Linked DNA regions of Homo sapiens: regions 1, 3 and 4 are each linked to region 2. The links are contacts of gene promoters, found by promoter capture Hi-C in blood cells and fetal thymus (Javierre and others, 2016). All regions are on one chromosome and are shown on one strand. The core of a region is centred on a gene start or on the middle of the fragment in contact, and the rest is flanking DNA. Distances in the headings are between cores, read along the strand shown. Region 1 holds the start of PARN (poly(A)-specific ribonuclease). Region 2 holds the start of GSPT1 (G1 to S phase transition 1). Region 3 holds the start of HAPSTR1 (HUWE1 associated protein modifying stress responses). Region 4 holds the start of USP7 (ubiquitin specific peptidase 7).

Region 1 (5,549 bases), core at 2,431-4,930, 2.7 Mb before region 2:
GGCTCACGCCTGTAATCTCCCCACTTTGGGAGGCCGAGGCGAGTGGGTCACTTGAGGCCAGGAGTTCGAGAACAGTCTGACCAACATGGTGAAACCCCGTCTCTACTAAAAATACAAAAATCAGCCGGGCGTGGTTACGCGGGCCCGTAATCCCAGCTACTCAGAAGGCTGAGGCAAGAGAATCGCTTGAACCTGGGAGGCGGAGGTTGCAGTGAGCCGAGATTGCTCCACCGCACTCCAGCCTGGGCGGCAGGGCAAGACTCCGTCTCTAAAAAGAAAAAAAAGAAAATTCTCTTTTGCCTAAGTTATTTCCGAGCCGCAAGTCGCAGAATCAGAAGAGCCGAGTTCTTGCCTGGCCCCAGTGTGACTTTGGGATTTCACTTTCTCCCTTCTGCGCTTCGGTCACCCTACTTTAAAGAATGGGCACAATCGCTCCGCCTTAGGCCAGGAACGTGCCTCGACAATTAGACCGTAAACTCAGCGTGGCGACTATCAGAAGCCTCATCAATTCTGGTCCGGCTGTTGCAGGGTGTGGCAAGCGCTCCTGGCGGGCAGGCGCCCCGTGGTTCCCCTCCAAGGTGTTTGGAAGCGACCCCTCCTCCTTCCCGCCCTAGGGAGCCCCAGGAGGGAGTGGCTCTGACCCTGACCCCCGAAAGGACGCAGGCGAGGCCCAGCGACCGGCTGTGCGGACGTGGGGCTCTCGGGAAGGGATAGCGCAGTTGGCCAAGCTGGGGTCCGAACCCCGCGGCCAGGAGTGGGGATGCTCAGGACTCGGGCCTGCGTGAGGAGAGGCCCCGCGCGCCTCCTACGACCCGGCTGGGGAGGCTCCGCAGAAGGGATTCCCGCTCCGTCTTCCACATCACTCCCCGATATCAAGCCCGAGTCGCCCCCTCAGCACCCCCCAGCCGTGTCGCGGCTTACCATTCCACTCGTCCCGGGCCAACCGGGCCATTATTCTCAGCACAGACCCCGCGGGAGCAGAGGAAGAGGGAGAGGCTTCGCTACCGGAAGTAACAAGACAGAGTGGGGGAAGCGTGCCCCGGCCCCGTGACCATAGAGGAGAGGCCGCTCTCCTTTCACAACCCCCCTCAACCCCGCGACCTCCCCGCTGCCTAGAGCGGCCACTCCCAGCCGGAGGAAGTGGGCGCATGCGTAATACCGCCGGTCCCGCCCCTTCCTCTTCACCCAGAGACCGAGTACCCGGGCTCGGCAGTCACAGCCCAAGGGGTGACGGGTGTGTGTCAGTTTCCGCTCCTCCTGGGCGGCTGTTCTTGTATCCGGAGGATACAAGCTTTGCCTAGAAATTAAAATATTACAAGGCCGCACCGTACTCTCTACAGTTATTTTTTGCCTTCACATTTTATGTAGAAAATCACAGGACTATACGTTCAATTTACGGTGTTAAGAATCGGAATTAAATGACTTTTATTTCTATTAAAATATTTTTTTTTTCGTAGAGATGGGGTCTCGCTGCGTTTTCCAGGCTGATCTTGAACATATGGCGTCAAGGGATCCTCCTGCCTCAGCCTTACAAAGTGCTGCGATTACAGGCGTGAGCCACCTCGTACAGCTTGAAATGGTTTTCTTATCACCACGTTTCGCCCCTTCCCAGCGTCTAGGTCACAGCGTCTAGAACTTATGCTGATTATTTGGTTTTGTTTTGTTGTTGTTGTTTGTTTTTGAGACAGAGTCTCACTCTCACCCGCCAGGCTGGCGTACAGTGGCACGATCTTGGCTCACTGCAACCTCCGCCTCCCGGGTTCAAGCGATTATCCCACCTCAGCCTCGTGAATAGTTGGGACTACGGGCGTGCACAACCACGCCTGGCTCATTTTAAAATTTCATTTTATTTTTATGGAGACAGGGTCTCGCTCTTTTCCCCAGGCTGGTCTGGAACTCCTGGGTTCAGGCGATTCTCCTGCCTCAGCCCCCGAAAACGCTGGGATTACAGGTGTGAGTCATGGCGCCAGGCCCCCATTAAACAGTTATTTATACAGATTTATTAATACGCTGCTTCCCAGTTCACATTCATTAGCACCACTGAGCCTCAATACAATCCCAGGAAATTGAGGTTTAGGAAGGTTTAATGCATTCCAGAACTAATAAGTGGCTGAGATAGATTTTGAAAATAGGTCTTCTAATCAACTTTCCTTTTGTTCGTTTGTTTGTTTTGGAGACGGAGTCTCGCTCTGTCGCCCAGGTTGGAGTGCAGTGGCACAATCTTGGCTCACTGCAACCTCCGCCTCCCGGGTTCAAGCAGTTCTCCTGCCTCAGCCTCCCGAGTAGCTGGGACTACAGGGGTGCGCCACCACGCCAGGCTAATTCTTTGTATTTTAGTAGAGATGGGGTTTCACCGTGTTGCCCAGGCTGGTCTCGAGCTCCTGGCCTCAAGCAATCCGCCTGCCTCGGCCTCCCAAAGTGCCAGGATCACAGGCGTGAGCCATCGCATCCGGCACTAACCAACTTTTCATAGTTGGCTTTTGTGAAAGACCAACCTGAATGTATTCATTCAACCCATGCTTATTGAGTGTCTACTACGTGTCAGCCCAGTGCTAGGCATTGGAGAACAGCAACCCCAAACCAACATACAATTCCATTAGGGCCGGGCCTCATATGTTGCACTCGACATAGTATTCCCAGAGGCTAATGCAGTAGCTAAGGGTCTCAGCTTTGCTTTCCGTGATCACCTAAGTAACAACCCCTATTATTCTTTTAATTTAATTTAATTTTTTTTTTGAAAACAAGTCTCGTTCTGTCACCCAGGCTGGAGTGCAGTGGCGTGATCTCGGTTCACAGCAACCTCCGCCTCCCAGGTTCAAGAGATTCTCCTGCCTCAGCTTCCCGAATAGCTGGGATTACAGGCGCGCACCACTGCACCCGGCTAATTTTTTGTATTTTTAATAGAGACAGGGTTTCACCATGTTGGCCAGGCTGCTCTTGAACTTCTGACCTCAGGTAATCCGCCCGCTTCTGCCTCCCAAATCGCTAGGATTACAGGCATGAGTCACCAAGCCCAGCCAATTTTTATATTTTTAGTAGAGACAGGGTTTCACTATGTTGGCCAGGCTGGTCTCGAACTCCTGATCTCGTGATCCGCCCGCCTCGGCCTTCCAAAGTGCTGGGATTACAGGCATAAGCCACCGGGTCCGGCCTAATTTTATTTTTTTAAGAGACAGGTCTCACTATGCTGTCCAGGCTGGTCTCGAACTCTTCAGTTCAACGGATCCTCCCGCCTCGGGTTCCCAAAGTGTTAGGCTTACAGGCGTGAGCCACCGCACCCGGATCCCATTATTCTCTATTACATCGCCCCGCTCTTTTTCTTAATAGCGATTTTCATGTGTTACCAAATGGCAAGTTTCACTCCTGCCTGAATTTCCCCTTACCCCAAGTTTAAGCTACAATGGGGCAGGGAGCACGTCTTCCTGTTCATCACTGTATCTCCACCCCTGTAAGAGTGGCTAGCATATCACAGAAACCCAGTCAGTATTTCCTGGTCGACTGGATGTCGAGACATGCACATTTTTTCTACTGAAGTGAAAGCCCGCACAAATTAGGCCACGCCTTGGGGACTTCGATAGCCACGCCCCTCCCCTGTCCCTATAAGGAGGGAAAGGAGCCCAGCCTTGGCCCCGCCCCCGCCGCCGCGCAGGCGCTGACGCAAGCGCAGCAGGCGCGCGCTGTTTCCGGAAGTCGCGGCCGGCGTCACCGCTGCGGCTGCCTCAGCTACTGCCGCAGTCGCCGCGGAATTCGGCGAGTAGAACCGCTGAGGCGGGCGCGGGCCCGGGTGGGGCCAAGGTTCCGGCCACTCTGCAGAATGGAGATAATCAGGAGCAGTGCGTGTCCGCCGTACACCTCCCCGCCTCCCCACACCCGGCTGCCCCTGGCCTGCTAGGCCGAGACCATGGCCGGCGTGTTTGGCTGGGCCTGGGGCTGAGGCAGCCCCTCAGGGCTTTTCCCTCCTTAAGCCGGTGCGCCTCTTGGGGTCTTTTCCGGCTGCGGACCGTGCACCCTAGGAGCCTTGTACTTACTCCTCCAACCCCGGCACCATCCGGGGCCTTGTCCTTCTCCGGGCCGGGCACCCCCCGGGGCTTGTCCCCCCTGACCCATGCACCCCTCGAGGACTTGATTCCCCTCGCCCCGGTGCACACCTCCGGGACTTTTCCCCTTCCGGCTCTCAGCCTCGGGAGCTCCTCGGCCCTCCTTCCCTCTCCCCTTAGCAGGAATTCAGGCCACTGGTTCTGAGCCTCTTTTCGGTTTCTCCGCAGATTTTAAGAGTAATCTTCACAAAGTGTACCAGGCCATAGAGGAGGCCGACTTCTTCGCCATCGATGGGGAGTTTTCAGGTATCCCTCCCTTGCAAGCTCAGGCTAGCACTTTGCAGTGCATAGCCAAGGCTCCTTCAATCCCCCAGCCCCCAACTTCTTATGCTTGGTGGTGGCCTCTTGCTGTTAGTAGCCTTGGGCGGGTTTCACAGGTCTCAGTGTTACCCTTTAAACGTTTCAAAAGCACGAAAGAAATGAAGATACGCCGTAGGTTTGTGATTGGACTCAGGATCTCAGATAGAGATGATGGTTTTGATGCTGCTTAAAACAGTGCGGCGTGTACATTGCAGAGAGCTTGAGGATTAGGGTCAGACTGTTTTTTTTCTTGATTGTAAAATAGGTATAACATGAAATTTGCCATTTTAAGTGGCTTTACAGTTAAGTGGCATTAAGTACATTCACATTGCTGTGCAAACATCACCATCCATCTCTAGGACTTCTTCATCTTCACAGTCTGAAACTCTTTACACATTAAACTCCCCATTTCTCCTTTCGCCCAGCCTTTAGCAACCGCCATTTGTCTCTGAATTTGACTGCCCTTAACATCTCATATAAGTGGAATCTTACAATATTTGCCCTTTTGTGACCGGCTAGGGTCAGGTTTTTGCAGATAAATGAGATATTTCTTTATGCATTAGTGGACGTGTTCATTGCCTGCCTCAACAGGTGTGTATACAGGAAATACTTCACTGACACTTAAAGTTGCAAATTTTTTTTCCCCTTTTTTAGGGGGAGCAAAGACTAGTTTTTAAATTGCTGATGTCAATATGAACGGTTCACTCCCTTTGATATGGATATCCATTTTTGCTGTCTGATTTTCCATGTTTGAATCATGAAGGAATCCATGCAGGGGTAAATAGTATCCTTGGCTTTAGGTAGTGTCTAGTTGGAATCACTTCCCTAGGAAGCTAAGAGTTTTCACTTAGAGAAATAATTTTCTCTTAATCTTGAAGATACATTCTTTGCATAGATATTAACCACTCCAAACTCTTGACCAAGACTGGAACTCTGGCAATAATATACTTAGGGATTTATTGATGTCTGTTTATACAGGAATCTTTTAAAGCAGCAAAACTTATTCAAGCATAGAGATTGTTTTCTTACATGATTACTGTGTTTTAAGTCATGTTTTAGACGCTGGAACTGCCTATTCTCATGTTGAAACATTCGCATCTCTAAGTTCATTATTAGAGGGTTTAACCTGGTGGCCACTGAAATTAATGCTTA
Region 2 (6,040 bases), core at 2,254-4,753:
CAGCCTGGCCAACAAGGTGAAACCCTGTCTCTACTAAAAAAAAATACAGGCCAGGCGTGGTGGCTCACGCCTGTAATCCCAACAGTTTGGGAGGCCAAGGAGGGCAGATCACAAGGTCAAGAAATTGAGACCATCCTGGCCAACATGGTGAAACCCCGTCTCTGTTAAAAATACAAAAATTAGCTGGGCGTGGTGGTGCACACCTGTAATCCCAGCTACTCAGGAGGCTGAGGTGGGAGAATCGCTTGAACCTGGGAGGTGGAAGTTGCAGTGAGCTGAGATCATACCACTGCACTCTAGCCTGGGCGACAGAGCGAGACTCTGTCTCAAGAGTCTCAAGTTATTTAAAAAATAAATAAATAAATAAAATTATTAGCCCTATGTGTCAGCAGTCTTAAATGAGTATCAAAGGACAGTATCATCCCAGCTAAATTGATTAAGCACCTTTTATACACCGGGCATTACACTAGGCAGTGGAAATGTAAAGAAGATTAAGGTAAGACCCTGCCCTCAAGTCGCACAACTTACACACAACTTAGCACAACTAACAAGAAAGACTTTTCCCTTTTCCGCTGGAGCTCTGTTTGGCAGGTCAAAGCTTTGGAAAACCAATGGAGTGGATTTTTTCCTGAATATCCATAATTATCCTATTCAGAGACAAGGAAATTAATGACATCAACTGCTTTTCTAAGCAGCAGTCTGAGCAGTTTCTGCCTTTGTCCCTAGAAAAAGTACCAGGCAGAAGGAAACTCTGCTAATTCAATTAGATGTGAAGAACTAACCTATGAGAAAGTGATCATTCAGTGCTGTAGGAGTGCTACATGGAGGAGAGTAGTATTCAAAGACAAAATGCTTAGAGAAGGATGTGTAGTTCATTATTTGAGTCAGCTGATTGTGTTGACATTTTCTTAGGGGTGGGTGGGTGGGGAGTGAAAATCTGGAAAGAGAAGGCATTTCATTTAGAACACATTGTATTTTTTCTTGTGAATATAAGATGAAAATCTTTTATTCAATAGCAATACAGGTCTCGCATAAATGAAGTTCTAATTTTCATAACAGTTGTTAAGTTCTCTGTAAATCTGACAGTCACTTAATACCAACTTTAAAATGGACATTGTTAAGTATGATTCAGTGAGGTCTTCAGGTATAATAATAGGCTATAACCAAAACTTCCTATTAAGCAGAGGCAAACTCTGCCGGGTGTGGTGGCTCACACCGATAAGCCCAGCACTTTGGGAAGCTGAGGCAGGTGGATCGCTTTTTTTGTTTGTTTTTTGAGACAGAGTCTCGCTTTGTCGCTCAAGCTGGAGTGCAGTGGCGCGATCTCGGCTCACTGCAGGCTCCGCCTCCTGGTTTCACGCCATTCTCCTGCCTCAGCCTCCTGAGTAGCTGGCAATACAGACGCCCGCACACCACGCCCGGCTAATTTTTTGTATTTTCAGTAGAGACAGGGTTTCACCGTGTTAGCCAGGATGGTCTCAATCTCCTGATCTCGTGATCCGCCCACCTTGGCCTCCCAAAGTGCTGGGATTACAGGCGTGAGCCACCGCGCCCGGCCTAACTTGTATTTTTAGTAGAGACGGGGGTTCCACCACGTTGGCCAGGCTGGTCTCGAACTCCTGACCTCACGTGATCCATCTGCCTCGGCCTCCCAAATTGCTGAGATTACAGGTGTGAGCCACTGCGCCTGGCCGGTATGTGTTTTTTTAATCCCTAAAGCTTGGTAGTTTAATATTAAATTCAAATTACTGTAGCCTAGGACTCTTTTGAAAAATACTTGACAGCTTCGTTTTTGACCTATCTCATTAGGCTGAGTTCTCTTTTATCTTTACAATACAGATGTTTAAAATTAAAATACAGATCGGCCGGGCGCGGTGGCTCACGCCTGTAATCCCAGCACTTTGGGAGGCCGAGACGAGCGGATCACGAGGTCAGGAGATCCAGACCATCCTGTCTAACACGGTGTAAACCTCGTCTCTAATAACAATACAAAAAAAATTAGCCGGGCGTGATGGCGGGCGCCTCTAGTCCCAGCTACTCCGGAGACTGAGGCAGGAGAATGTTGTGAACCCGGGAGGCGGGCTTGCAGCGAGCCGACATCGCGCCACTGCACTCCAGCCTGGGCTACAGAGCAAGACTCCGTCTCAAAAAAAAGAAAAAAGAAAATTAAAATACAGATCTAGATCTGGATTTTGTTAGGTTTTTTTTTTTTTTAACAACCTAAGGTTGTTCAGAAACATCTATTCTATGTATGTGCTTCTTTAGTCTGTAATTTCTAGGCAGATTAGTTGCACCCTGTCTAGACTCCTTTCAGAAAAATACTAACAATATGTTTTTCTCTGTCTTGGGCTCCACATGGGTGAATTACAGGAAAGCTTAACAGGTACTCAGAGCAACATTTTTTCCTACTTCATGAAGGGCCTAAATGCGAACTCTTAAGTATTTCTCGTTTGCTTTTGTTCTTTTCCCAGGTTTACCTAATCTGTAAGTGTAAGATGCAGTCGATGAAAAGTACTATGGGAATTCTTGAGCAAATCAGACCATTCAAAAGGAAACCACTTCACGTAATGGTGCATAAGGAAGCTAGACTCACCAAAATAACCCTGTTAGGTAAGCCGGATACACCATGGAATACGGCAATCCTCTGTTTAATTTGCAAACCCTTTGGCGGGGAGGAGGAAAGGATGGAAAAATTTGGGTGAAGGCTTTATATGACTAGTCAAACAAACGGTGAGTCATTGAAATTTTCCAGTTAACAATCCCTTCTGCCTGGGCAGAGCCTGGGCCCCAGCGCTTTATGAGCCACACTGCAGTTTTAAGCCGGAATATCTCACGGTTTTATTGTTTCTTCCACGAAATGATTACATAAAATGAAATCAGCTTTGCAATCTGCACCGGCTTTGAAATGAAGGGCAAAATCTGGCTGGGGGTGAGGAGAAAGAAGGTGGAGAGAGAATAAGGTACGGAGACTGTGAGGCAGAGAACGCAGGAAAGGTGGTGAAAAGAGAGTACAAGAATTTTCGGGAGCTGAGTGTATTTTTCTTCCCCATGTTATAGATGCTGTCCGTTTTCCCCCAGCCTGTGTCCAGCAGGCCAGAGTGGACCCCTCCTATGGGCTAAAATACTCTCGGTCTTCGGCCCAGCACAGAGCTGCACCAACCAGGGCCTGCCGCTGCCCCCCCACCAGGTGACAGGTGGGGCCGCCGAGCGGCCACCAGACCTCCGCCTCCTCGCGTTGCCTGCCGGGAGCCGGAGCCGCTTCCGGTTGCGCCCTGTCCCTGAACTTCGACTCCCGTCGGCCCCCGGGAAAACCGCAGCGGGGTAGCGCGGGCGCTGCCGGAACTTGTAGTTCCACCTCCCGCCGCGCTAAATAGCCGGAAACGGGGGCGGCCAGAACAGAGAACTACCGAGGCGAAGGTACGGGTGGCGGCGAGGGGTCAATCCGCGCCGGGGGTGGGGTTGGCTGTGAGGCCGTCGGAGGTGGTTGGGTGGGAGGAGATCCGCTCACACACACGAGGAGGAGGGTTGAGCTGCCGCCGCCGCCGCCTCTGTCGTCGTCGCGAGTGTGGAGTCGGGACTGGAGCTGCTGCCGCGGCGACGCCGGGGATCTTTGTCGCTAGCTCCCGGCCCTTCTGCCCCGCCGCCTTCCCTCAGTCAGCGTTGCCCACTCCTCTCCGGCCGGGCGCCCCTGCCTCCATTTCCCGCTCTCTGTCCACCACACACACGGCCCCCCCGATCATGGATCCGGGCAGTGGCGGCGGCGGCGGCGGCGGCGGCGGCGGCGGGAGCAGCAGCGGCAGCAGCAGCAGCGACTCGGCGCCTGACTGCTGGGACCAGGCGGACATGGAAGCCCCCGGGCCGGGCCCTTGCGGCGGCGGCGGCTCCCTGGCGGCGGCGGCCGAGGCCCAGCGGGAGAACCTCAGCGCGGCCTTCAGCCGGCAACTCAACGTCAACGCCAAGCCCTTCGTGCCCAACGTCCACGCCGCCGAGTTCGTGCCGTCCTTCCTGCGGGGCCCGGCAGCGCCGCCACCCCCAGTTGGCGGCGCCGCCAATAACCACGGAGCCGGCAGCGGCGCGGGAGGCCGTGCGGGTAAAGGCCCGGGACGCGGGAGGAAGTCCGGCCGGGCGCCGGAGCCCACATGGCGTAGGGGTGCGGTCCGGGGGCGCGCGGCCCTGGGGCCCGGTCGGCACGTGGGGCGCTGACAGTGGCGCCGTCTGCCTGGGTGGGGCGCCCCGAGCCCGGGAGCCGGCCTTCGCGGGGCGGCCCGCGGCGGTGGCCGGGCGGGGAGCGGACAGCGGGCAGCGCGCCCAAAGACCCGGACCCGAGTGCCGCCCCTCCGCGCCCCTGCCCTGCTCTGGAGTCCGCAGTTACCCACTTGAGATGGGAACCGTATGGAACGGAGTGGGGGCCGCGGCGGATCCCTGCCACGAGGCGCAGAATGAGGACAGATGGAGCCAGGAGTCATTTGGGTGGGCGTTTAGAGATCCCAGGAGTTGGGGAGGACGAATGGCCGAGTTTTCCTTTCACCTTAGGCCCAGCCGAGAGAGCGTCTTCTGCTGCGTTTTCTACTATTGAAACTGTAATTACGGTTTAAACTGTCCGTGGCCCCCAACCGTCCTGAAGGAATCCCAAGATGCATTGCAGCCTTGTGATCGGGCAGAAACTTGGCTATCAATACCAAGATCTGTTTTACCCTTAGCATTGTGTACGCTTCTAAAGTTTACAAAGTGCCACAAAGTTAGGATTCCTCACTTAATGTGTGATAGGAGACTATATTGATTTGTGTCTTTTTAAAGTGAAGCTTACACTTTTATCCTTTGTCAGCGACACGTTTAGAGAATTTTCATTGCTGTAAAATCGTTGACCTTATTCAGATTGCTTGGAATAACTCACTGTGTTCGTGCATCAGTAGTTCAGTCTATTTCTTCAGACACTTGAGCATTTGTTATAATTTAATAGTTCTCACGTGTCTTTCTGACCGTAGCTAGTAGACATACATTTTCTAATCCATAAAATTTCGAGTTAACTTTGGTTTTTAAACATCTTCCCGTACTTAGGGGTTGCTTAAGTCGTAGGTAGCATGCTTGCAGGTGCTGACGTTGTAGGAATATCCGGTGAGTGAACTTATGTATTCTCATAATGGTGCTTATTTTGTGGTAGGTAGCTTGCTTTCAGGTACTGATTTTGTGGGAATGTCAAATGAGTGAACTTAAGTATTCTCTTCCTAATGGTGCTTATTTTAGGAACTATCAGTGTTTCCTTAAAGAGAAAATGAAAAAGGAAGGAAAAGGCTGAACGTCCTTTCATCATTTAGCCAGGACGTTAGTGGGGTGGGTCATGACATCCAGCGCATTTTAAGTGAGAACATATTGTTGATTTCTCTCTTTAAAGTTCTGTATTGTGGTGGTTCTTAGATAAGTGGACATTATAAAAGTGCTCCAGGAGTTTGGTTTCTACAGAAACTTTTGTCACCGTTTGCTCTTTCGTGGTAAAGGGATAGTGTCTGGAGAAACACTCTGATGACGTATGTACGTCAGCACGGTTGATTTGGTGGTTTTGTTGACAGTGGCATTTATTTGTGTGGGTGGTTGATGTTTTCTTTTGAGGAGATCGAGCACTTTCAGGGTGGTACGGCTCTAGACAATGTTTTCCTCTTGAATAAGGAAGCTTAGCTTGTAATTCTTGACTTACATCAAGCCATTTTGACTGCCTAACCTAGTTCACTTCTCAGCTCCTAAAAGTGCCCATTCCCTACCTTACTTTGCAGATTCCGTTTATCCAGCCATTTTCTTTCTTGGCTCTTCCTCCTTTCTGTGGAGCCACCAGCACCACTCTGACTAGACTCAGGACTCCATTTACAGCCTGTCCAGCGAGTCATCCGGGGATAACCAACCTTGGTCTAGAATGGTCACTGTTGGTGACTAGGTATTACCTCTTATGCGGGCTTTCTCTCTTCCTGATAGTTGCTAATTTGTAGTTACACCTAATCTTTTTCTCTTTGACAGTGCTAGAAATTGGAGATGCGAAAACCTGTAGGGA
Region 3 (5,625 bases), core at 120-2,619, 2.8 Mb after region 2:
GTTATCTTTACCTTTGTAGAGATTGGTGACGGCGGTGGCTGCGTTTTGGAAGGGGACCCAGAGAGAAAGTCCTGGCTGCTGACACACTCGGTCTGAAAAGCAAGCCAAAAAAAAAAAAAACCAAAAAGAAAAAAGAAACACACATAGAAAGAGAAAGAAAGAGAACAAGAATGTTATTTGCGCGTCAATCACTCCGGAACGGCCATATTAGGTTTCGCCATTTTGTTCAGGGGTTTCGGGATCCCAAACCCAGTGTGAGGACCGGGGGGGCAGGGAGGTCGCGGCGGGGAAAAGGGGATGCCGCAGAGCTCAGGGGCACAGATCAGGGACGAGCCGCGGCGCAGGGAAGCGCCCCCCCTGGCAGTCCCCGCCCCGAGGCCGGCTCAGGGCACAATGGGGCCGCCCCGCCGTCTCCCTTCGCCATTTTGTGACGGGGGCTCCTCCTCTCCCGTCTCCGGGCCGAGGGGGACACCGGGTGGCCGGGCCCGGAGAGCGGGGACCCTCGGACCACCCCAAAGCGGGGCTACCCCCACGCCGGCTCTGGCCTGTCCCCCCAACCCCGGGCCTCCCTCCCGCGGCGCCATCTTGCGGGGAGGGGGCGGCAGGGCCGCGGAGCCACCGGCCGGGATCCCCGAGGCCGCCGCCGTCGCGGCCCCCCGAAGCGGCCGCTGAGCCGATAGGGCCGGGGCCGGGCCCGGGCGGGGGCGGCCAAGCGGTACCAAGATGGCGGCGGCGGCCTCACCTTTGTAGAGCTGGGCCACGGCGGTGGCCGAGTTCTGGAAGAGGTGCCACAGCTTCTGCTGCTTGTGCTCGGGCTGCGCGGCGGCCGCCGCCTCCTCCTGCAGCTCGGGGGGCAGCTGCTCGTCCTGTTCGGCCTCGGCCAGGCACTGCCGCTCCCACTTGGAGAACCAGTGCTCGGGCCCGTGCTCCTGGATCTCGGCCTCGCCCTCCTCCTTCCGCTCCTCCATCCTCCGCGGCCTCCCGCGGCCTCGCCGCCACCGCCGCCGCGTCCTCCTCAGGCGGGGCCCCCGCGGGAGCGTCGTCGTCAAGCGGCCCGGCGGCAGGGCCTGGCGACCGACGGCGCCTTCTCCTTTCAGCGGCCCAGGCCTCCTGCACCCCGACGGCCGGCGAGCCCCGCCCCGCGGCCCCGTGCAACCAGGGACGACCCCCGCCCCAGGCCTTCCCACCCCCGGGCCCGGCCGAAGGTCGCCGCGGACCAGATAACCGCTGCCGCCCCTCGCCTCGGCCGCCGCAGCCTGTCTAACGCCCCCCCATGGCGCTGCGGCCTCCCCACTGCCGCCGCCGCCGCTGATCGCCGAGCCCTCCGCGCAGCTCGGCCTGCACCGCGGAGCCCACCCCAAGACTGAGCAACGTCGTCGTCGTCGCCACCGCCGAGGACGGCTCTGCGGCTGCTGGTCCCCGCCCTACCCCGCCCACATGCTGACAGGAGAAGCACCGCCCACTGGGCCCAAGCTACCCTGCCCGGTTGAGGCGTGGCCGCTCCAAGGGCCCCTATTAGTCGGATCCGGCCGGTTCCGCGTGGCGGCTTCTGAGCACAGCGTCGTGATTGGTTCTTCGGCCTGTCTGCCTGACGTAACCAATTGGCTGGGGGAAGGGAGTGAATGTCAGGAAGGATGAAGGAGGAGGAGGGGGAGGAGCTGACAGTGGTTGCGTCCGAGCCAAGGGGGCGGGTGGGGGGTGGAGGGGAAGAGCTAGAAGGGATGCGCATGCGCACTTGCTCGCTGCTCCCCCCCCCGCTCAGGGGCGTTGAGTGGGGATCACGTGACGAGGCCCAGCGACCGCACCCCGCGGGAGCTTTTCCGGCGTGTACAGGCCCTGGGGGGATGCAAAGTCGAGTGCGGCTCCTGTGCCGCGGGCACTGAGAGGTATAGTGGGTGGTAGCGTGCTTACTCCAGCCCCTGGGGCTCCCAAAGGGAGGAGGGTAGTAGAGAAAGTGAATAAAACGCCCAACTCGTGTCCAAGTTTGCAAAGCGCTTTCCTATTCTTTTGAGTACTCCCCCTTTTTTTTTTTTTTTTTTGAGACGGGGTCTTGCTACGTTGTCGAGGTCTAGACTGCTGGCCTCAGGCGATCTTCCAGCCTCCCAGGGCGCTGGGATTACAGGCTTGAGCCACCGCGCCCGGCCCAGAGTCCCATTTCTTAGACGGGCAAATCGACCATCACAGCCAAAGAAAAACTTCCGAGTTGCGAAGTCGGCTCAGTTGCCCCTGCGCCCTGGCGTCCCCCGAGGACGTCGCGCCTTCCGGGTGGACAGGACCTCGGCGGCCGCCCGCGGAGCCAAGGATAACCCGACGGCCGACGGTGCCCGGTGCCCGCACGCGTGCGTCTGCGCCTTTGCGCGCGCGGCGGCCCCCGCACCTGTCCCGAAAAGCACACTCCCAGGCCACGTGCATGCCCCGCGTCACGTACCGGCCCCTGCCTTCCCCGGCCCGAACCCGCGTGGCGGTGCCGAGCGCTGCGCCCGCCCCTACTCCCCCCGCAGTGCGCGATAGCTGGACGCCCCTGCGGCTGCGCGCCCCCCTCCCCTGTCGGGGCTTTCTCCAGGGTCTGAGGCCCCGGAGAAGGCAGCAACGCAGACAGGCGGTGACCGCACAGAGGCAAAACCCACCATCCCCACCTACATGCCCACGGGAGGCACCATCCGGCCTGGAGCGGCGGAGGGCGCCGGCCAGAGGCAGCGTCGCCCGCAGCCTGCGATAGTGCGCTTGCACAGAGCAAGGCGGCTTTGGAAGAAAATCTGACCCCCTCACCGCGGCCTGCAAACCCCTGCAGGATCTGGCCCTGGCGCCTCTCACACAATCCCCTACTTGGCTTGTACCTTGCGCACTCCCCCTCTTCCCCACCTCGCCTGGACGCTCACACACTGGCCTGCCTTATTTCCCTGGGACACTAGGCTCTTTCCTGCCCCAGTCTGCTATCTCTGGAAGCTCTTCCTCCTCCTCTTTCCTCAGATAGCTCCTGTTTAGGAAGCCTACTAGGACAAGCCTAAAGTAGCACCCTTCACACTGTCTCGTATTGCCTGGTTATATTATTTCATAACATCAATCACTATCTAAAATGCTAAATTAGGCCTGGCGCGGTGGCTAAAAAACAGGTTTCCAATTGTAGGGAAGAATATAAAGTGAAAAGCAAACAAAAATCATTCTACCTACCTCATTCTACATCCTCCCAATCCTATTCCCAGGAAATAACTTGTGACCTTTGAAAACGGAGTTATGTGTACGTCGAGTGTGTATGTGTGTGTGTACCTATATACAAGTATGTCCCTTCTTAAGGAAAAAAAAAGATGATTTTATGTGTACTATCCTACAAGCCTTTTTTCCTTAACATAATTTGGATGTCTCCACATTGGGACCTAAAGACTTATTTATTCTTTTAAAATATTGCAAATAATTTCATTGTATGGATTCACTACAAAGTATTTTACAGGGCCCCTATTGATACAAATTTAGATTGTGACCAGTCTTTGGCTATTATAAACAATGCCATAATGAACATCTTGTACATATGTAATACAGTGAACATCCTTGCATATATACATATGTGTATTGAATATATATCCTCAGAAATAGTATTTTAGAGTCACAAGGTATATGAGTTAAATATTTTAGGAGGGTAGGCATGGTAGCTTACACCTATAATCTCAACAATTTAGGAGGCCAAGACGCAAGGATTGCTTGAACTCAAGAGTTCAAGACCAGCCTAGGCGACATAGTGAAACCCAGTCTCTACAAAAAAATACAAAACACAGCCAGGCATGGCGGCACACACGTGTAGTTCCAGCTACTCAGGAGGCTGAGGCGGGAGGATTGCTTGAGCCCAGAAGGCATAGGTTGCAGTGAGCCGAGATAGTGCCACTACACTCCAGCCTGGGTGACAGAGACCCCATCTCAATCAATCAATCAATCAATAAAACTGCCTGCTGAGTGTACGATCAATGGTTGTTGATATGTCAATTTCTACATTTCTGCATTCATGGTAGCACGTGGGAAGTCCAGGCCTGCACATGTAGGTATGACAAAGGAGAGAACACAGCTGGACGATTTCGCTGCCTGCAGGCTCCGCTTCAAAAGCCACACACCACTTTGGACAGTCCAAAGGTTTCGAGTTTTTACAGAATGAAGGCTGCTCTTCTTCTCCTTCATGTAACTCAGACCCTGTTCCAGAAGCCTCTGGCCTTTTCTTGTAAGAACATAATATTTCAGCCATACATACAAGATGGAATGATATTGAATAGCATAAACGCTGGCTCTATAATAAATATTTGTCAGTTGGAAAAAACAGTCTAAAGAAAAAGGAATAAATATTGAAAAGCACCACCTATCTGCTTGATTTCCATGACCCTGAGCTTTGTGTTAACCTCTAAGAGTTTCTTTTTTGTTGTTGTTTCGAGACGAAATCTCGCTCTGTCGCCCAGGCTGGAGTGCAGTGGCGTGATCTCAGCTCACTGCAACTTCTGCCTCCTGGGTACAAGCCATTCTCCTGCCTCAGCCTTCCTAGTAGCTGGGATCAGAGGTGTGCACCAGCATGCCCAGATAATTTTTTGTGTTTTTTGTAGAGATAGTTTTGCAATGTTGCCCAGATTGGTCTCCAATTCTTGGGCTTAAGCAGTTCTCCCACCTCAGCCTCCCAGGTAGCTGGGACTACAGGCACATGCTACCATGCCTGGCTAAATGTATTTTTTGTAAAGATGGGGTTTTGCAGTGTTGCCCAGGCTGGTTTCCAACTCCTGGACTCAAGCAATCCTCCTGCCTCAGCCTCCCAAAGTGCTGGAATTATAGGTGTGAACTACTGCACCCAACCCACCTCGAAAAGTTTCTGAATTCTGAATTGATAGTCTTAGAGCACTTGAGCTATTATACAAATGCTTATTATCTTCTTATTCATGTGTACCTTATAATCAATGCCACTTGGAATGGAGGAATGTCAAATAACAATGCACGATACGTATTATGACCAGCAGTCAGCAAATAGAAGACCTTGTCAATGTGGAGATTCTCTCCAATGCCACCTACTCTTCAGTTTAAAGATGAAACCTCATAAGCCGGGAGCGGTGACTCATGCCTGTAATCCCAGCACTTTTGGGAGGCCAAGGCAGGCAGATCACCTGAGGTCAGGAATTCGAGACCAGCCTGGCCAACATGGAGAAACCCCATCTCTACTAATAAAAAAATAGTGGGGTGTGGTGGTGCATGTCTGTAATCCCAGCTACTCAGGAGGCTGAGGCAGGAGAATCGCTTGAACCCGGGAGGCACAGGTTGCAGTGAGCCGAGATCGCGCCACTGTACTCCAGCCTGGGCAACAGAGCAAGAATCTGTCTCATTTGAAAAAAAAAAAAAAAAAAGGCCGGGCTCGGTGGCTCCCACCTGTAATCCCAGCATTTTGGGAGGCTAAGGCAGGTGAATCACCTGAGGCCAGGCATTGGAGACCAGCCTGGCCAACATGGTGAAACTCCGTATCTACTAAAAATACAAAAATTAGCTGGGTGTGGTGGTGCATGTCTGTAATCCCAGCTACTTGGGAGGCTGAAGCAGGAGAATTGCTTGAACCGAGGAGGCGGAGGTTGCAGTGAGCCAAGATCATGTCACTGAACTCCAGCCTGGGCG
Region 4 (5,171 bases), core at 1,754-4,253, 3.0 Mb after region 2:
CCCAGAGGCTCTGAGCTCCTAGCAGGCAGTAAACAGTTGCAGGGGTGAAAGCATTCATTCGGCAAATCGGCAAATCTTCACTGAGCATCCACTGTAAGCTTGGTGCTGTACTGAGGATAGAGCTGTAGACAAGACAATTTCTTCCTCAAGGTGCTTCTAGAAAGAGAGAGAGATATTGTGTGTTTTTTGTTTTTTGTTTTTTGTTTTTTTTTGACACAGAGTCTCGTTCTATAGCCCAGGCTGGAGTGCAGTGGTGCAATCTCGGTTCACTGCAACCTCCACCTCCCAGGTTCAAGCGATTCTCATGCTTCAGCCTCCTGAGTAGCTGGGATTACAGGCGCGCTACCATGCCCGGCTAATTTTTGTATTTCTAGTAGAGACGTGGTTTCACCATGTTGGTCATGCTAGTCTCGAACTCCTGACCTCATGATCCGCCCGCCTCAGCCTCCCAAAGTGCTGGGATTACAGGCGTGAATCACCGTGCCCGGCCAGATTGGTTTTGAACTCAGTGATGAGGATAAGGTTGGCCAATGTGAACTGACAGCCATATACATAACTTTCTGCCACCTCTTCCTCTGCCAGAAAGGCACTTTCTTCCCTCCTCCAAGCTTCCAGAATACTAGAGAGAAGGACTCTTTTGCATCTGAGCGCTGTTGATTAGCATTTGTGAGAATCTGTGTGAATAACAATACCTCTTCTTCAGATTCTGGGGGTGACCCAAGGGATTCCTTTGAAGTGACTGGGCTCTCCCCTGCTCACCTCTGTGGTCTGGCAGGAAATATACTGGTGAAAAACCTTCAAGCGTACGAAATGCTGGTGAGGGGGATCCAGTCACGCTTGAATCATATGTTCATTCAACCAGTTGACTAATGATTGATTAATTGATTGGCTGATTGAGATCGGGTTTCCCTATGTTGCCCAGGCTGGTCTCCAACTCCTGGGCTCAAGTGATTGATCCTCCCGCCTCAATCTCCCAAAGTGCTGGCATAAGGGGTGTAAGCCACTGTGCCTGGCCCATTCAACCAATATTTATTTATGTATTTATTTATTTTAGATGGAATCTCCCTCTATTGCCCAGGCTGGAGTGCAGGGGTGTGATTAGCTGACTGCAGCCTCCACCTCCTGGCTTCAAGCAATTCTCCTGCCTCAGCCTCCTGAGTAGCTAGGATTACCAGCGTATGCCACCATGCCCGGCTAAGTTTTTTGTATGTATTTTTAGTAGACATGAGGTTTCACCATGTTGGCCAGGCTAGTCTCGAATTCCTGACCTCAGGTGATCCGCCCACCTCGGCCTCCCAACGTGCTGAGATTACAGGCGTGAGCCACCGTGCCTGGCCCAACCAATTTTTTTTTTTTTTTTGAGATAGAGTTTCGCTCGTTGCCTAGGCTAGAGTGCAATGGCGCGATGTCAGCTCACCGCACCGCACCCTCCACCTCCCGGGTTCAAGTGATTCTCCTGCCTCGGCCTCCTGAGTAGCTGGGATTACAGGCATGCGCCACCACGCCCGGCTAATTTTGTACTTTAAGTAGAGACGGGGTTTCTCCATGTTGGTCAGGCTGGTCTCAAACTCCCGACCTCAAGTGATCCGCCCGCCTTGGCCTCCCAAAGTGCTGGGATTACAGGTGTGAGCCACCGCGCCGACCTGGCCCAACCAATTTTTATTGAGCACTTGCTGTGTATCCCAGGCATTTGTGATACAACAGTGAGCAAAACATTCTTTCGGGGGGAAGGGAGATGAACAGTACATAAATGGGAGAAAAATGCAGGGAAAGCGGGTATAGGGAGATGGAGAGAAGACAGGTACCACAATCTTCTGGCCTTGTTAGGGTGAAATTCTATTCTCCCCTGAGATGTGTAGAAATGTATATCGGTTTGCTCCATTTTTATTGACCCACACTGCCTTGATTAACTGGAAAAGTTGAGACCCTAATCATCAGTCTGTCAATGACTGAATGAGACAGGACAGGAGATATATTCACCAAATGTCTCCTGGAATAGGGAGGCCCCGGGTGAATGATCCCAGACTGGGTTGATAGGAAGGAAGTAAATTAATACCAAATGTGAAGGGTAGTGGGCTTGTTTTATTTTTATATTATTATTTTATTATCACTATTAGTTGAGACAGGGTCTCATTCTGTTGCCCAGGCTGGAGTGCAGTGGCGCCATCTTTGATCACTGCAGCCTCAGTCAACCTCCCAAGCGAACCTCCAGCCTCAGCCTCCCAAGTAGCTGTCACTACAGGCAGGAGGCACAACACCCGGCTAATTAAAAATACATTTCAAAAATATAAAAACAAAACCCAAAACCTTTGTAGAGAGGGTGGTCTCTTACTCTTGGCCTCAAGTGATTCTCCCACCTCGGCCTCCCAAAGTGCTGGGATCACAGGTGTGAGCAGCTGCGCCCCGCCTGGGGTTGCTCTTGAGGAGCCAAACTTTGCCAGATTAGGCTGACAGTGAGAAAATAAATTCTTCCACGGTAGATACTGGGTGAAAAAGTGCACGTCAGCGGGCAAGGGTAAGTAACGACAATAACAGGAACTTCTAGGCGCTGACCCCAAGCTCCCTTCCGGGCCCTATCCCGAGCAGTCCCCGGGCAACCTCCAGCGCTCGCCCCGGCGCGCTAGGCTGGGACCTGAACCCCGGCTGCCGGGTGGCTTCTGGGCCCCTCCTCATTGCCGCTCCTGGGTCTTTCGGGGTGTCCGGCTCCCCAGGATGGGAAGGATTCCGGTTCACCTCCGCAGGGCTAAGTCACCGGGCGGCCCGCCTCGGCCCCCAGGGCCCGGGGGCAGGGAGCGCCGAGGGTCCGCCGCGGGGCTGCGGCGCAGGCGGTGCCGGGGCGCGGCGCTGCGGGGCAGGCGGGCCTCGGCGGCGGCGGCAGGCGGGTCGCTCCCTGCTCCGCCTCCCGTGCTCCGCCCTGCGCTCCCGCTCCGCCCTCCGGCTCGGCGCCCGCCCGCTTGCTCTCCTCGCTCGCTCGCTCGCTCCGCGGCCCCCCATGCGGATGTGACATTTCACGCCGCCGCCATTTTGAGAGCGAGCCGAGCCGAGCTGCCGGGCGCCGCGTCCGCTGCCGGAGCCCCGACGACGACGCCGAGGAGGCGGAGGCCGCGGCTCTCGGAACGCGGCCGGCCCGTCGCCCGCCCGCTCCGCCGCTCCCGCCGGCCCCAGGGCCCGCAGGCCCGCCGCGGCCGGCCAGGCCTCCCGTCCGCCGCGCCCGGCCCGAGGCGGGGCTGACTCCGCGGCCCCCGACCGGCCGCCCTCCGCCCCCGGCCGGCCCGCGGCCCCGCAGCCCCGGCCCCGGCCCCGGCGGCGGGAGGCGGGCCCCGCGGCGGCGGCGGCGGCGGCCGCAGCGAGCGACGAGGCCGCCCGGCCCGGCCCGCCGGCCGCCCGCCCGCCTCGGCGCCGAGATTGGGCGAATCGCGAGCAAGTACGTGCGCGTCTCCCTGCCGCCGCCGCCGCCCGCCGCGGGCCGCCCCGGGGCCGCCGTCGCCGACGACGCGCGGGAGGAGGAGGAGGAGGCCGCCCCGCCGCCGCCGCCGCCGCCGCCGCCCCGGCTCGCCGCCGCCCGCCCGCCGGGCTCGCAGCCCCGGCCCCCGGCCGCAGGCGAGGCCCAGGCCGCGGCCGACATGAACCACCAGCAGCAGCAGCAGCAGCAGAAAGCGGGCGAGCAGCAGTTGAGCGAGCCCGAGGACATGGAGATGGAAGGTGAGGCCCGAGGGCCGGCCGCGGCGGGGCCGGGGGGCGCCTTTCATTGTGGCCGGGGGAGCCGCGGGAGCCACGCGAGGGGCTCGCCATCTTTAACCAGGCCCCGGGCGGCCGCCGGGCCTCGGCCTGGCCTCCCGGCCCCGGCCTGCGAGGCTGCAAAGTCATGCCGGGTCCGCGGGCGAGGGGCGGCCGCCGGGACCCCGGCCCCGTGCATTGTCCCGACCTCGCGTCCGCCGGGCCTCCGCGGCACAAAGCGCCCTGAGTTGTAAATTCGAGCGCTCAGGCAGCGGAGGGACGGAGGTGTTTTCTCACCCAGGTTGGGAGGCGGACTCCGGGGACCGTCCCCGTTCTGGGGCGTCCGGTTGGATCTGGTGTGGCTGGGGAATTCCTGACCTCCCCGGGCGCGGGGCTCGCCCGCACCTGCTCCGGTGCGCTCCCCCGGAGGGCGCGCCGTGGCTCGGAAGCGCTCTTCCAAATCACTTTCTAACAGCACTGCCTAGCGTCGGGCTTACGTTCGAAAATACCTGCAAGGAACGCAGATGTTGTCAGGTTTTGGACTGGCCCAGAGTTCTGACCCGGGCGCTGTTGGTTTCCGAATCCACCTGTTTTTCGGGGAGTTTGTACTTGGCAGTGTGTGGTGCAGCCAGCATCCGGCCAGGTGTGCGCTTGCAACCGTGCGAAAGCCCTGCCGCACATGGCTGCCTGCATCAGAATCAAACCTGACTCGAAAGGTAACTCGGTTTTCTGCCGATGTGGCAGTAATTTTCCAAGGCACTGTAGTTTGAGGTATAGAGTCTTGGTTGTAAAGGTTGGATGTGAAGACGCTGTAAAGAGAAGGGTGTTGGATTTAGGGAGTTGGTCGTTGGAAGGCACTTTTTCTCACGACCCATTTCACTGAAACAAAGCAAAGTCCAAATGGTCTTTAAAAAGTTTTCTTACCTACGTGACGAGTTCAGGCTGTCGGGAGTCAAATGGAGGCCACCTGAATGAAAACGGCGTGGAATGCTTTAGTTTTGCTTTTAGCAAGGGATCTTGGGTTGCCTCAATGAATGAAGCTCCAGGGGAGCTCAGGAAAAGCAGTATTTGTCCTGTGCGGTGGCTCCAAGTGTGGGGCGCTGCACACCGGTTGGTGGGAACACTTAAGCGTGACTGGTGTTCACCTCTGAATAGAATAACTTACTTCCAGTAATTGGATAGTCACTGAAAAAATGGCTGGCCAGGTTGCAAATGACAAAGTGGCTGGGATTCTGCAGTAGGCACTCCCCAGTGGTATTTATCAATGGCAGTAATGGGGGACAGAAGAGCGGAGTCCACGCCAAGGACTGGGTTATCTGTTTCACTTGGCCCCAGCAAAGCAGCAACTAAGAGCGCCTGTTATGTGTGATTAAACCAAATAGCTGAAAAGAAGTACTTTACTGAGGGAATTTTGTGTATTCCTTTTGTGCTGTATTTTGCAGCCCATCTAAAAC

What was found. Contacts are between HindIII fragments. The CHiCAGO score rates a contact against its expected background, and 5 or more counts as called.
Region 1: the fragment with the promoter of PARN here is called in contact with the fragment with the promoter of GSPT1 in region 2 in 4 of 17 cell types (neutrophils, non-activated CD4 T cells, naive CD4 T cells and 1 more); the score reaches 10.6 in neutrophils.
Region 3: a contact is called between the fragment with the promoter of HAPSTR1 here and the fragment with the promoter of GSPT1 in region 2, in 4 of 17 cell types (non-activated CD4 T cells, naive CD8 T cells, fetal thymus and 1 more). The highest score is 10.4, in non-activated CD4 T cells.
Region 4: a contact is called between the fragment with the promoter of USP7 here and the fragment with the promoter of GSPT1 in region 2, in 4 of 17 cell types (non-activated CD4 T cells, total CD8 T cells, naive CD8 T cells and 1 more). The highest score is 9.0, in non-activated CD4 T cells.

What each region holds. Positions count from the first base shown.
Region 1 is chr16:14,628,391-14,633,939 of GRCh38, reverse strand. PARN (poly(A)-specific ribonuclease) reads left to right here and starts at 3,680. Exons shown (of 24, transcript NM_002582.4): 1 at 3,680-3,833; 2 at 4,266-4,343. The coding sequence starts at 3,815. It overlaps BFAR (bifunctional apoptosis regulator), which reads right to left and starts at 989. Exons shown (of 8, transcript NM_016561.3): 1 at 922-989. RefSeq lists enhancers at 407-976, 977-1,544, 3,144-3,666, 3,667-4,188, 4,189-4,712. The HindIII fragment of the contact is 4,468 bases long and covers 1,294-5,549 here.
Region 2 is chr16:11,913,419-11,919,458 of GRCh38, reverse strand. It overlaps GSPT1 (G1 to S phase transition 1), which reads left to right and starts at 3,503. Exons shown (of 15, transcript NM_002094.4): 1 at 3,503-4,090. The coding sequence starts at 3,739. RefSeq lists enhancers at 1,563-2,063, 3,364-3,513, 3,122-4,059 and silencers at 3,114-3,173, 3,884-3,953, 4,044-4,283, 4,324-4,373. The HindIII fragment of the contact is 2,427 bases long and covers 2,378-4,804 here.
Region 3 is chr16:9,087,388-9,093,012 of GRCh38, reverse strand. It overlaps HAPSTR1 (HUWE1 associated protein modifying stress responses), which reads right to left and starts at 1,369. Exons shown (of 4, transcript NM_014117.3): 1 at 743-1,369; 2 at 12-92. The coding sequence starts at 968. RefSeq lists enhancers at 1-69, 2,339-3,204 and silencers at 220-719, 930-1,269, 1,440-1,509, 2,298-2,428. The HindIII fragment of the contact is 14,700 bases long and covers 1-5,625 here.
Region 4 is chr16:8,961,738-8,966,908 of GRCh38, reverse strand. It overlaps USP7 (ubiquitin specific peptidase 7), which reads left to right and starts at 3,003. Exons shown (of 31, transcript NM_003470.3): 1 at 3,003-3,702. The coding sequence starts at 3,624. It overlaps USP7-AS1 (USP7 antisense RNA 1), which reads right to left and starts at 4,196. Exons shown (of 2, transcript NR_184341.1): 1 at 4,015-4,196; 2 at 1-156. RefSeq lists enhancers at 1-151, 152-775, 776-1,399, 4,096-4,632 and silencers at 563-857, 2,541-2,900. The HindIII fragment of the contact is 5,189 bases long and covers 611-5,171 here.